2 separate regions of the Homo sapiens genome follow, and region 1 is linked to region 2. Evidence: promoter capture Hi-C in human tissues and cell types (Jung and others, 2019). All regions are on one chromosome and are shown on one strand. Each heading gives the region's core, a stretch centred on a gene start or on the middle of the fragment in contact. The rest is flanking DNA. Distances are from core to core; before and after follow the strand shown. Region 1 overlaps TRIP12 (thyroid hormone receptor interactor 12). Region 2 holds the start of HTR2B (5-hydroxytryptamine receptor 2B).

Region 1 (5,790 bases), core at 2,928-5,427, 1.3 Mb after region 2:
ATGAAGGATGATAAATTACCTCATGGCTGTAATATACATTATTTGGATGATGGCTAATACCGAAAGCCCAGACTTTGCCACTAAGCAATATATCCATATAACAAAACTGCACTTGCACCCCTTAAATTTACACAAGAAAGTCAAAACTAGGAATATATATACAAATAAAATTGCATAATTTTATATGTAAACATGTAACCTATATAAATGGATACATCAACATAAATGAAAACAAAAATGTCAATATTAATACATGTACATTGCTTTAAAAAATATTATCTCCTCATAGTTTGGCGAGGTTGGGCAAATCATTCAGCTGTAGTTATGATACCAACCCTATTACTAATCTTATTTGCAAAATAATAAGATTCCTCCTTGTGAAGCATAAATGAAAGATTTTCAAAGTTGTTTTCACATATGAAGTGCCATAGAATGCAGCAACATATTGTAATGTACCATGTAATGTTGAATTGAGAGTTATGGTCATGTATGTATGTATGTATGTATGTATTTTATTTATTTATTTATTTTTGGAGTCAGAGTCTCATTCTTGTCGCCCAGTCTGGAGTGCAGTGGTGTGATCTCTGCTCACTGCATCCTCCCCCTCCTGGATTCAAGTGATTCTCGTGTCTCAGCCTCCCAAGTAGCTGGGATTCACAGGTGCCACCACACCTGGCTAATTTTTGTATTTTTAGTAGAGATGCGGTTTTGCCATGTTGGCCAGGCTGGTCTCGAACTCCTGACCTCAGGTGATCTGCCCGCCTCGCCCAGCCAGGTCATGTATTTAAAGGGCTTTTGTATGCATCAGGGTTTTTTGTTTTAACGTTAATTCAGAGGCCAGAATTAGATTCAGTGGGTGGATGAAAGTTGAGAGATGGGCTTCTGATTAATACAAATCTTAGTAGAATAAAAATCTAAAAATTATATTAAAAATAGAGTAGGCCATTGTGAGAAATTTCACATTGGGTAGGTTTTTTATTTTATTTTGGATATCCTTTGTTTTCTTCCAGTTTTTAAGAATTGAACCTATTTGAATGTGATGTGTTTCCTTAGGTAAAGACTTATTCTAAGACATAATTGGTCAGTAGGAGAGCTTTCATAGTAAAGGAAATGTTTTAAAAATTGTAGGAACAACAGTATTTTTAAGATGCTTTATGAAAAACCATTCTCCATGTTCAAGTATTATTCAAGGAGATTCTAGATAAGCAGGAATATATTGAAAGCTGTGGGAAGACTTGCAGTAACTTCTTAACCCAATAATTTGCAAATTAATTTGACCAGCTATTACTTGGGAACCAGTAGTGGTTCATGGAATACACTCAGGAAATGATATAATACATTTAGTGAGGAAGCTTAAACAGGAAGACCTTGTTATTGTGCTGCTTAGTCAATTGTTGATAGACCAATGAACAAGTTCCCGGCGAGGCACTAGGGCTGGCAGAAGATCTAGTGAAACCGCTACTTTAGTGATAGACTTCCTGAAGCATTGCTGCTTGCCAGCTGTATCTCATCAAAACAGCTCTGAGACAAAGGTCATTCTGTGTTACTTGGTAAAAGTCTCCTGAGTACCCCAGAAAGAAAATTGTTATGTAACAATTTTTAATGTACATTAGGAAGTTATAGCTGTCTCTTGTTTAGCCTAAGTAAGTAGACATTTTTGCAAATTTTATACAGCATAAATATAAAACCAGTAGGGTAATATAATGATATAGATGGCTTCAAAAATCTTTTTATATTTTAATATACTTTAAATAATTTTATAATAGTTTGGCTTCAAAATATATTTTGCTAATCTACCTTCTTATAAAAGCTAATTTAAAAAAAAATTTGCAATAATTTCAAAGTGAGTAGATGATGATGGTATAGAATTATAAGAAACAATTGGTGATCAAAATCTGAGTAATTATGGAACCTGTTTATAGAAAAACTTAAGTTATATTTCCAGGCAGATGTTCTATTGAAGATCTACTTTACTCTCTATTATTTAAAGTGGACATCATGTGCACGTTATTAGTAACATAGCAGTAGTTAACAGCTTACTTTTGTCTTGAGTTTCATATTCTCCTGGTGACTTTGCATGTAGCCTGTGGTTTTTATCAGACCTAGACAAGAACCAGGCAAAAGCCAAATTCTAGAAAAGAGATTCTGATTAGATTAGGAAGACTTAGTGCTTTGGGCCCCTAGCACGGAGGGAGGAAATAAGAATGAGTTAAGCAGGAGAGATGAATTTAAGTTAGATACATGGTTTTGTGTCCGGAATTGGTGGATTCTTGGTCTCACTGACTTCAAGAATGAAGCCGCGGACCCTCATGGTGAGTGTTACAGCTCTTAAGGTGGCGCGTCTGGAGTTTGTTCCTTCTGATGTTCGGATGTGTTTGGAGTTTCTTCCTTCTGGTGGGTTCATGGTCTCGCTGGCTCAGGAGTGAAGCTGCGCGGTGAGTGTTACAGTTCTTAAGGCAGCACGTCTGGAGTTGTTCCTTCCTCCCGGTGGGCTCATGGTCTTGCTGGCTTCAGGAGTGAAGCTGCAGATCTTCGCGGTGAGTGTTATAGCTCATAAAAGCAGTGTGGACCCAAAGAGTGAGCAGTAGCAAGATTTATTGCAAAGAGTGAAAGAACAAAGCTTCCAGTGTGGAAGGGGACCCGAGCGGGTTGCCACTGCTGGCTCGGGCAGCCTGCTTTTATTCTCTTATCTGGCCCCACCCACATCCTGCTGATTGGTAGAGCCGAGTGGTCTGTTTTGAGAGGGTGCTAATTGGTGCATTTACAATCCCTGAGCTAGACACTAAAGGTTCTCCATGTCCCCACCAGATTAGCTAGATACAGAGTGTTGACACAAAGGTTCTCCAAGGCTCCACCAGAGTAGCTAGAGAGTGTCGATTGGTGCATTCACAAACCCTGAGCTAGACACAGGGTGCGGATTGGTGTGTTTACAAACCTTGAGCTAGATACAGAGTGCCGATTTACAATCCCTGAGCTAGACATAAAGGTTCTCCACGTCCCCACCAGACTCAGGAGCCTAGCTGGCTTCACCCAGTGGATCCTGCACCGGGGCTGCACGTGGAGCTGCCTGCCGGTCCCGCGCCATGTGCTCGGACTCCTCAGCCCTTGGGTGATCGATGGTACTGGGTGCCCTGGAGCAGGGGGCGGCGCTCGTCGGGGAGGCTTGGGCTGCACAGGAGCCCACGGAGGTGGGGGAAGGCTCAGCCATGGTGGGCTGCTCTCCCGAGGCCTGCGCTGCGGGAAGGCAGCTAAGGCCCGGCGAGAAATCGAGTGCAGCGCCGGTGGTCTGGCACTGCTGGGGGACCCAGTACACTCTCCGCAGCCGCTGGCCCGGGTGCTGAGCCCCTCATTGCCTGGGGCCGGCAGGGCCGGCTGCTCCTCCGAGTGTGGGGCCCGCCAAGCCCACACCCACCCGGAACTCCAGCTGGCCCGCAAGCGCCGGGTGCAGCCCCCGTTCCCACTCGCGCCTCTCCCTCCACACCTCCCTGCAAGCTGAGGGAGTGGGCTCTGGCCTTGGCCAGCCCAGAAAGGGGCTCCCACATTGCAGCGGTGGGCTGAAGGGCTCCTCAGGTGCCGCCAAAGTTGGAGGCCAGGCAGAGGAGGCGCCGAGAGCGAGCGAGGGCTGTGAGGACTGCCACACGCTGTCACCTTTCAGTTTCACCAACTTGCATCTTGCAGGATCATCTCTACTTGCGTGAAAAAGGTAGATAATCTGTGAGCTCTGTGAAGAGTTGGGCAGGGAGCTTAAAAGGAAATGGGTTGAGTGTCAGTTTTCTATATTACAAGGCAGCTATTAAAGTAATTTAGCAACTTAAAAGTTTAGAAGTTCCAATATGTGACCGCTTTGAAAAATTACTAACAAATAATCCTAGTGTTTTTGAGGCTTTAAAAAAACTTTAAACAGAAGTGGCCAAATTTAAAAAAGAGATCATTTAATTGTAAATACAGCATTGACTTCTTTGTTAACAAGGCTTTGCTTTGTATTACATTGTTTGGAAATTATAAATGGCCATGTTATATATTGTTTTGTATGCAAGGTCAAAATAAGAATTAAATTAGCCAAATTATGTTTTACTCAATTTACATTAGTAATTGCCCTTTATATTCTTACGTGTATTCTGGAATGGTTTTGACACTTCTGATTCTGATATATGTTTGTTAAAAGTAATCCAGAAAGTACCAAAATATACAAAGAAGAAAAATACAAAATCACTTTTAATTTCATTCACCAAGGGCTACCTCTTTTTTTTTTTTTGGTGTGTATTATGCCAAAAATTTTCACTTTATATTTATCAACACTTATGTGCAGTGTTAAGTGAAAGAGTTATATAAGACCTTTTTTTTCTTCTTCTTCAAGAAGATAATCATAGCTTACTGCAGCCTTGATCTCAAAAGATTCAAACAGTGTTCCCACCTCAGCATCCCGGGTAGCTGGGACCACAGGCACATGCCACCATACCCAGCTAATTTTTTTAGAAAGATTTTTTTTTTGTAGAGATGAGGTCTCACTATGTTGCCTAGGTTCGTCTCAAACTCCTGGACTCAAGCGATCCTCCTATCTAGGCCTCCGAAAGTGCTTGGATTATAGGCATGAGCCACTATGCCTGGCCAGATCTATTATTTTTTTTTAAAGCAGTCTTTCTGCCACTTTGCCCTTTTCTGTGGCTGATTATTTTGAAGTTTCAGTGTCTAGATTATGTGCTTTTATATGTCCCTTTGTTGATTCTTCTCCCCCACCCCCAAGTGTTTGATCCCTGTTGTGTTCCCCTTAGGGAAAATGAAGATTTTGCATTCTAACCTTACCCCACCCCATTCACCTACCAAACACATACTGTTACATACTTCCTGTCTTCCCAGTGATGATCAGCACGCAGGGTTTATTGTATCGTGAACATCTAAATGTTATTTACACTGAGCCACGTAAAGGAACATTTCCTTTCTCACACATTTTTGCTTTTCCTGAATTTTAAATTCCTTTTTGTTGTTGTTTTCCTTACTTTCCCATGAACTTACTCAAACTCCACATTCCTTACTAATTGTCACAATCTTTTCTCAAGCTGTCTGCATGCATTTGTTTCATCTTGAAGAAATGAGGCCTCTGGATGGTTGTTCATTATGCCTGGTTATACGGCTTCAGCCTTGGGATTTTCTTCAGTCTTCTTAGTTTCCCTTTTCTAGATTTCATGTCATCTTGGTTTCTTGTTTTGGTGGAATATTTCTTCTTGACTCTAAGGAAAAGTATGAGATTTTAATAATTTACAATTTATTTTTTCAAAATTTAGATGTCTGAAAATGTTATACCACCCTGATATTTATTTGCCAGATTGGTGAATATAGAGTTCTGGGTTGGGAATTACTTTCCTTCAGAATTTTCAAGAATTATATAGTGTATTCTGTCTTTCAATACTGGCACCATTCCTAGTTCTGATTTATTCCTTGATAGGGTGACCAACTGGTTTTGCTTTCTCTGGATCTGGGGCATTCTGAAGACTCAGGACTTACAGCTCTAAAACCAGCATAGTCCTAGGCAAACTGGGACTGTTGGTCACCGTGTACTTGTTTGTTTTCTCTTTCTTGATTTTCTATTGAGTGCTTGTCCTCTTAAATGGTCTTGATCTTACTGTTTGACATTGCTTTCCTTTTTCGTTCTGTTTCTGGTAGATTTCTACATCTTCCAACTTTTCTCTTGAAATGCTTTTTTTCCCCCATGTTTGCCATGTTTTATTTCCAAGAGGTGATTTTGTTTTCATTTTCTTGTTTATAGAATCATGCGTTTGGTTTATGGTTGCA
Region 2 (6,207 bases), core at 3,411-5,910:
CTGCTATTTGTAGCTTTTAACTCTTATCAGTTTAGTATATAGTGAATACATATAACTTACCACAAGGAAAAGCAAAAAACAAAACCACACAGACTGTGCCATAAATGTTACAAATTCAGTGAAAGAGAATTTATTTGTTGTCATCTTCCTGGACTTCAGAAAACTAAAAATTAGTATACTTTTAGGCAAGCTTTTGGTACATTTCCAAAAAGACTAATACTTTTCAGGTGCTGCTAAAATGGGCGAGGGAGGGAATTTTAAAGATGTAAGAAGAGTCACAAGCCTTATACAAAGAAATTGCTGTGTCACCATAATAAATAGAGCTCTTAAAAATCTCAGATTGCATTCCTGGACCTACAGAAATCTGTAATATTCAAAGTTGCAGCATTATTAGCACACTTGTTTTCATTTCTAATCAGCAAACTAAGAAAAGTCTTGCAGTATGAGTGAGCTGCCATCAACTTACTGCTATTCATTGAGAACTGTATTGATATTTCTTTGATTTTTATAGTAATCAACATAAATGTACTTTGATTCTCAAAAAGTTTTAATCACTTCTGATATTTAAACAAGTATTCTAATGATAAAAGTCTATTTCTAATAGCTGATTACTGTGATTACTGAGGACATGCAGAGTTGAGCATATCTACTCCAAAAGATATTTGGGTTATGATCATCAACTATAATTCCAGGTATAGCAGTCTTTTGATTAAAGGACAACACCATTTTATGACATCAGGTTGTACTCTAGAGTTTCGATGACAAAAAAAAATCTTATTCTTTTGTTCTGGCAATAACCTGGCAAAAATTGTCTAGATCAACTTTTACACAGGAATCCAGTAAAAAACTTAACCTGGGGAGGGCTTAAAGAAGAAGGTGCTGTATTGTGGTAAGACAGCACTGTGGCATCTTAAACTGTCTGCCTACCACACCCCCACTCCTAGACTAGCTGTGACAGTAGAGATGGCAGCCTATCACACTCCTGGTATAGGCTGTTAATGCCAGAGGAAGCAACACAGACTTCATATACATATGAGATGGGATCAAGAACCTAAGTAGAAGTCAATTGTGGAAAGGAATGATAACATGATCCCAAAGAAGGATAGGATGGATGAAAAGAAAGACATTTTGAGAAGACAGTGAAGGAAGCTTGTTTTTGATTTGTCAAAGTCTTTCGTTAAAATAACAGGCAGTCAGAAGAGAATGAAGGAGTCTAACGAGAACAGATTAAGTTTGAAATAGCTATTCTTATAGTTTCAGCTCTTTCACTGATCTTGTCAAAGAGAATGAACATGAGAGGAATGAATAAAAAGAAAGCTGAGAAATATTTGAACTCCACTGTAGGTCCTGTTGAAGTGAGCTAGTCTTAGTTCTACCTTATCTGTACTATAGTTACCAATATACTTGTTTGCATCCTCCATAAAATTATAAATTACATGAGGACAGAAAATGTTTACCTTATTCATTAATATATCTCCATGAGCATATGGCACTTAGTAAATACTTCACAAATGAATATGTAGCAGATACAATCCCTGTCATGTTAAACATTCCTTTATGGTTACTGTTTAATAGGTATTATGACTGAGAGGTAAAAAAGTGTTCTTGGCTGATATTTAAGCTGTCTTCCTAGACCTATAAAGAATATTAGACTGCCCTTTTCGGTCAAAGACAGAATCTGCTCAATAAATTAAAAAGACATCAGGGAGAAAATTCAATTGTCTTAGAAAAAAATGTGCCAATTAGGTTTTTTTGGTTATTACTGGATTAGAGGCTGAGTCTGACCTTGAAGTTACTTTAGTAAGAGTTACTTTATCTGAAGCTTTTGGGAAAGGAAATATTCTACACAAATGAAGCTTCCAGATATTAAAAACTTCACTCTACCATTAAGAATCATACTTTTATATTTCTTATTATTTGCATAGAAATATTTAATAAATTCATTTCACATTTATTTGCTGAATGAACATGATCTAGCCTTTTCTTAAGTACACAGAAGTCATCACTGTGCTATCCATCATTATGCCACATAAAATGTTGTCAAAGGGCGTGGGGTGCGGTGGCTCATGCCCGTAATCCCAGCACTTTGGGAGGCTGAGGCAGGCGATCACTTGAGGTCAAGAGTTCGAGACCATCCTGGTCAACATGGCGAAACCCCGTCTCTGCTAAAAATACAAAAATTAGCCAGGCGTGGTGGCAGGCGCCTGTAATCCCAGCTACTTGGGAGGCTGAGACAGGAGAATTGCTTGAACCTGGGAGGCAGAGGTTGCAGTGAGCTGAGATTGTGCCACTGCACTCCAGCCTGGGTGACAGAGGAAGGCTCTGTCTCAAAAAACAAAACAAAAACAAACACAAAAAAAGGTACAAGTCTCTACTTTGAGTAGACCTACATGTTTATACATTTAAATTCTTGTTTTTTTTTTTTTTGTTGTTGTTGTTGCTGTTTCAGTTGACCCTATTTGCTATTATCAAAGTGCTTGTCCACCTTTTAACTTGTTACTCAAATCTGGAGTAGGCAGGGAAACATGTTTATTAAAATTGTCTCACATGAATTTATCACTCAACATTCTTTTGTACTATCTACATCTACCACCATGTACAAATGTTATTTTCACTAAAGAAGGGGGAGAGGCAAAGTTTTGTGTGTGTGTATACGTCTGTGCGTGTGTGTGCGTGTATGTGTGTAAAGAGTAAAAAGATATGGAGTGGGGACTTAGAGGCTACTTTCTACTTAAAGTGCTTAGGGTTTTAGAGCACAGGTTTAGTTATTTGCTGAGACTCAACTATCCTTTTATATAATTATTTATTTATTATTATTTTGCTTTTTTCTTGATTCTCAGCTATGCTTCCCATAACTTGAGATTGCCAAATAAGTAGCTGTTCTAACTAGTTACGTTCCTTAGACATTAAACAGACTTAAAAAAGCAAAAATAAAAAAAATCAGAGTACCAATCTTACTTTTTATAAGTTGAGGCAAAAAATGAGTGAATGTGAGTGAAAGGATTAATACAGGCAAAATACAACAATGACTGCATTTTTATAATATACTTAATATTTAAAAAATTTTATCTATAAACAAATCAATAAAGGCTTATTTCATACAAGTCTTTTCACTGGATATAAAATGGTGCTGCTATTTTCAATCTGACATTACTTGTTTTGCAGATCCCTACCTGCCTTCATAAGCACAGATGTCAAAGTGTAACTCACAACTAAGCAGTATTTAAAAATAATTTCTTTTCCTCTTTTTTTTTTAATCTTGGAGACAAGATCTCATTCTGTCACCCCAAGCTGGAGCGCAGTGGTGTGATCTCAGCTCACTGCAGCCTCGACCTCCCCCAGGTTCATGCAATCCTCCTGCCTCAGGTCTCCCCTGACCCCTAACCCTCAACCCCTCCGCCGCCGCCCAGTAGCTGGGACTACGGGTGTGAACCACCACCCTTGGCTAATTTATGTGGTTTTTTTTGTAGAGATGGGGTTTTGCCATGTTGCCCAAGCTGGTCTCTTCTAGACTCAAGCAATCCACCTGTCTTGGTCTACCAAAGTGCTGGAATTACAGGAATGAGCCACCGCACCTTGCCTTAAAATATTTTCATATTCCTGAATAGAAATTCTGGTACATTAAAAAACATCTGATTTCTCTTGAATATTATTTCATCTAGAATTCTTCACAAGTATTTTTTCTAATATAGTAAATTTTGAGTTTTTAAAAAAGCAGCAAATACTGAATAAAATCTGAAGTGCTCAGCAGAGCTAAAATGAACTAAGTATTTTCCAATAACATTCAACATGAGCAAAGGAATACAAATTTGAAACAAGAAAAGGGCACAAATGTCATCACTGATTTATAAGTAATTAATTTTAAAATATGCATCTATAATGATCTTTTAAAAGGAAACCTTGAGAATGCTGAGGTTCTAATACTAAGCTAGTCTTATGGTTACAGAAAACTTAAATAGCATAACTATTAAGATTTAAACACCAATTTTCTGAAATAAGGCAAAAACGTATTTTCATTACTTGTATTTTCTCCAACGTAAAGTCTATGGGGAAAAAAAGCTGTGAACCACTCCTAAACCCAGAGATCATCTGTTTAAAAATAAGCAGTAAAAAAGTTTCTGCTAAAACCTATGTATACATGTAGAATTCAGGCCTTTCTGTGCTCTTCTATATAAGGTTGCAACCAGAGCAAATTAATGGTGTTCCACAGCAAAGGCACAAAAGCTAGATAAGAATCTTGTTTCACTGCTAGAAATCAGAACTGTAGAAATCACTATAGGCTTTTAAAACGGCAGAATCTTCAAAGAATGAAACCTCTAAAATAGCTAGATTATATCTTATTTTTTCTCAAATGTGAAAAACAGCTCAGGCTTAACCCCAAACAAAACTATCTGAAGCTAAAATGATCAAGTTTATTACAGTCCCCCCAAATATTAAAGAGAGCTCTTAAAAATATAACTTGAATAAGGGCCATGAACTGGTTCAACATGCTTAACAGTGGTTTTATGAATTACAATGAATGCTGCTACTCTCTAAAAATGAATGTATCAAAGAGGAAATAACCTCCTTGGCATGCTTGCAGCTATACAACGTATTTGTTTCACTGCTTTCAACCGCCTGTGCTGGAGGCTCAGAATAAGTCAATGGGAGGAGGATTTCAGTCACAGCAGCAAGCAAGTCTAGTGAACAGATAAGATGACATGCTCAGCAAAATAACAACGAAACCAGAGGTAAGCATTTAATAAACACATATGGAATTAATCTAAAGGTTTTTTTTTTTAATCTTCAAGAATTCTGCTATCATAATCTTTCATTTCTATTCAGCGGTTTAAAAATCAAAATGAAAAATTTACTAATGCTAAAGGAGAGTTTTTAAAAACGTGATTTGTACATTTGATGAACAAATAAATGGTCTAATCTTCCTTTTGGTTTCCCTTTCTTCTCAAGGCAACTGGGAAGGTTAAAAAAATAAACACTACTTAAAACAAAAAAAGAACTGGTTTGAATTTGGCAAATTTAGTGATTAAATTTAGAACACAATTGTTGCAAAGACATACCATGAGAGATGAAATTACTAAACACAATTATTTGGATCCTAGTAATACCTTTTTTTTTCCTTCTCTCAAACTAAAGGAAATCTAAAATGACATTTATATCAGTACTCACAAACCTGATAAGACAAAGCTAATTACATATAAGGATCCCTAGCTGGTAAAACATTTATTTAGACCCTTGTTGGGCTTTGAGTGTTTCTAGGTGGGTGGCCAGCGCATACTAAAAGTTCTATTCTGAACTATTGTGTTTCGACTTTTCTATTCTTCTGTAAGTAAAGGTAAAAAGACATTCAAGGGTCAGGAAACACCTAACTTTTTATTATAACCATTGAAAAAATTAATGTGTCTTCTGTTTCATTAACTGAGCAACATCAGAAATACAGTATATTTGGAGAATTGGCTGCATTGTCACAAATGCACAACAGACTTACTAAGAAGGGAAGGGCTATGAAGTTCAAGTGTTTTTACCACTTTCAGAAATGAATAAAATAATGCAGTCTATGTATTTTGTATCTAGGGGGAACTCTCTGGCATGCAAGTTCAAACACGACTCTACAACTACGGCAGAAAAAGAGAGAGAGAGAAACTAAAAATATATATATATCCTATTTTTTTCACAGCTATCAGTTTCTTTCACTGAGCTTTCCTAAATTTAAGCCTCTAGAAAATAATAAATACTTGGATATCTTACCTACAAACATGGACAGATGTGTGTATGCGCTCATTTTAGAGAACTTGAATTTTTTTTTTTAAAGGAAGGTGTCAACTTTGGCTTTTGAGTGTTTGGCATGGTTACAATGCCTTAAAAAAACAGATGAGCAGCTTAGCTACTAACCATGCTGACCACTGTTCGGAACGGGATTGAATCACAGAAAAACAGCAAATGGCTCTCTCTTACAGAGTGTCTGAACTTCAAAGCACAATTCCTGAGCACATTTTGCAGAGCACCTTTGTTCACGTTATCTCTTCTAACTGGTCTGGATTACAGACAGAATCAATACCAGAGGAAATGAAACAGATTGTTGAGGAACAGGGAAATAAACTGCACTGGGCAGCTCTTCTGATACTCATGGTGATAATACCCACAATTGGTGGAAATACCCTTGTTATTCTGGCTGTTTCACTGGAGAAGAAGCTGCAGTATGCTACTAAT

What was found. Contacts are between HindIII fragments. The study calls those that stand out against the background at their distance.
Region 1: a contact is called between a fragment that was not itself captured here and the fragment with the promoter of HTR2B in region 2, in 1 of the 25 tissues and cell types used here (lymphoblastoid cells).

What each region holds. Positions count from the first base shown.
Region 1 is chr2:229,848,401-229,854,190 of GRCh38, reverse strand. The region is part of intron 4 of TRIP12 (thyroid hormone receptor interactor 12); the gene reads left to right. Among named protein-coding and RNA genes, the nearest start is that of TRIP12, 71 kb to the left of the region's middle. RefSeq lists enhancers at 2,677-3,355, 3,356-4,035. The HindIII fragment of the contact is 4,381 bases long and covers 1,987-5,790 here.
Region 2 is chr2:231,123,495-231,129,701 of GRCh38, reverse strand. It overlaps HTR2B (5-hydroxytryptamine receptor 2B), which reads left to right and starts at 4,660. Exons shown (of 4, transcript NM_000867.5): 1 at 4,660-4,730; 2 at 5,572-6,207. The coding sequence starts at 5,938. The region is part of intron 16 of PSMD1 (proteasome 26S subunit, non-ATPase 1); the gene reads right to left. The HindIII fragment of the contact is 13,649 bases long and covers 1,487-6,207 here.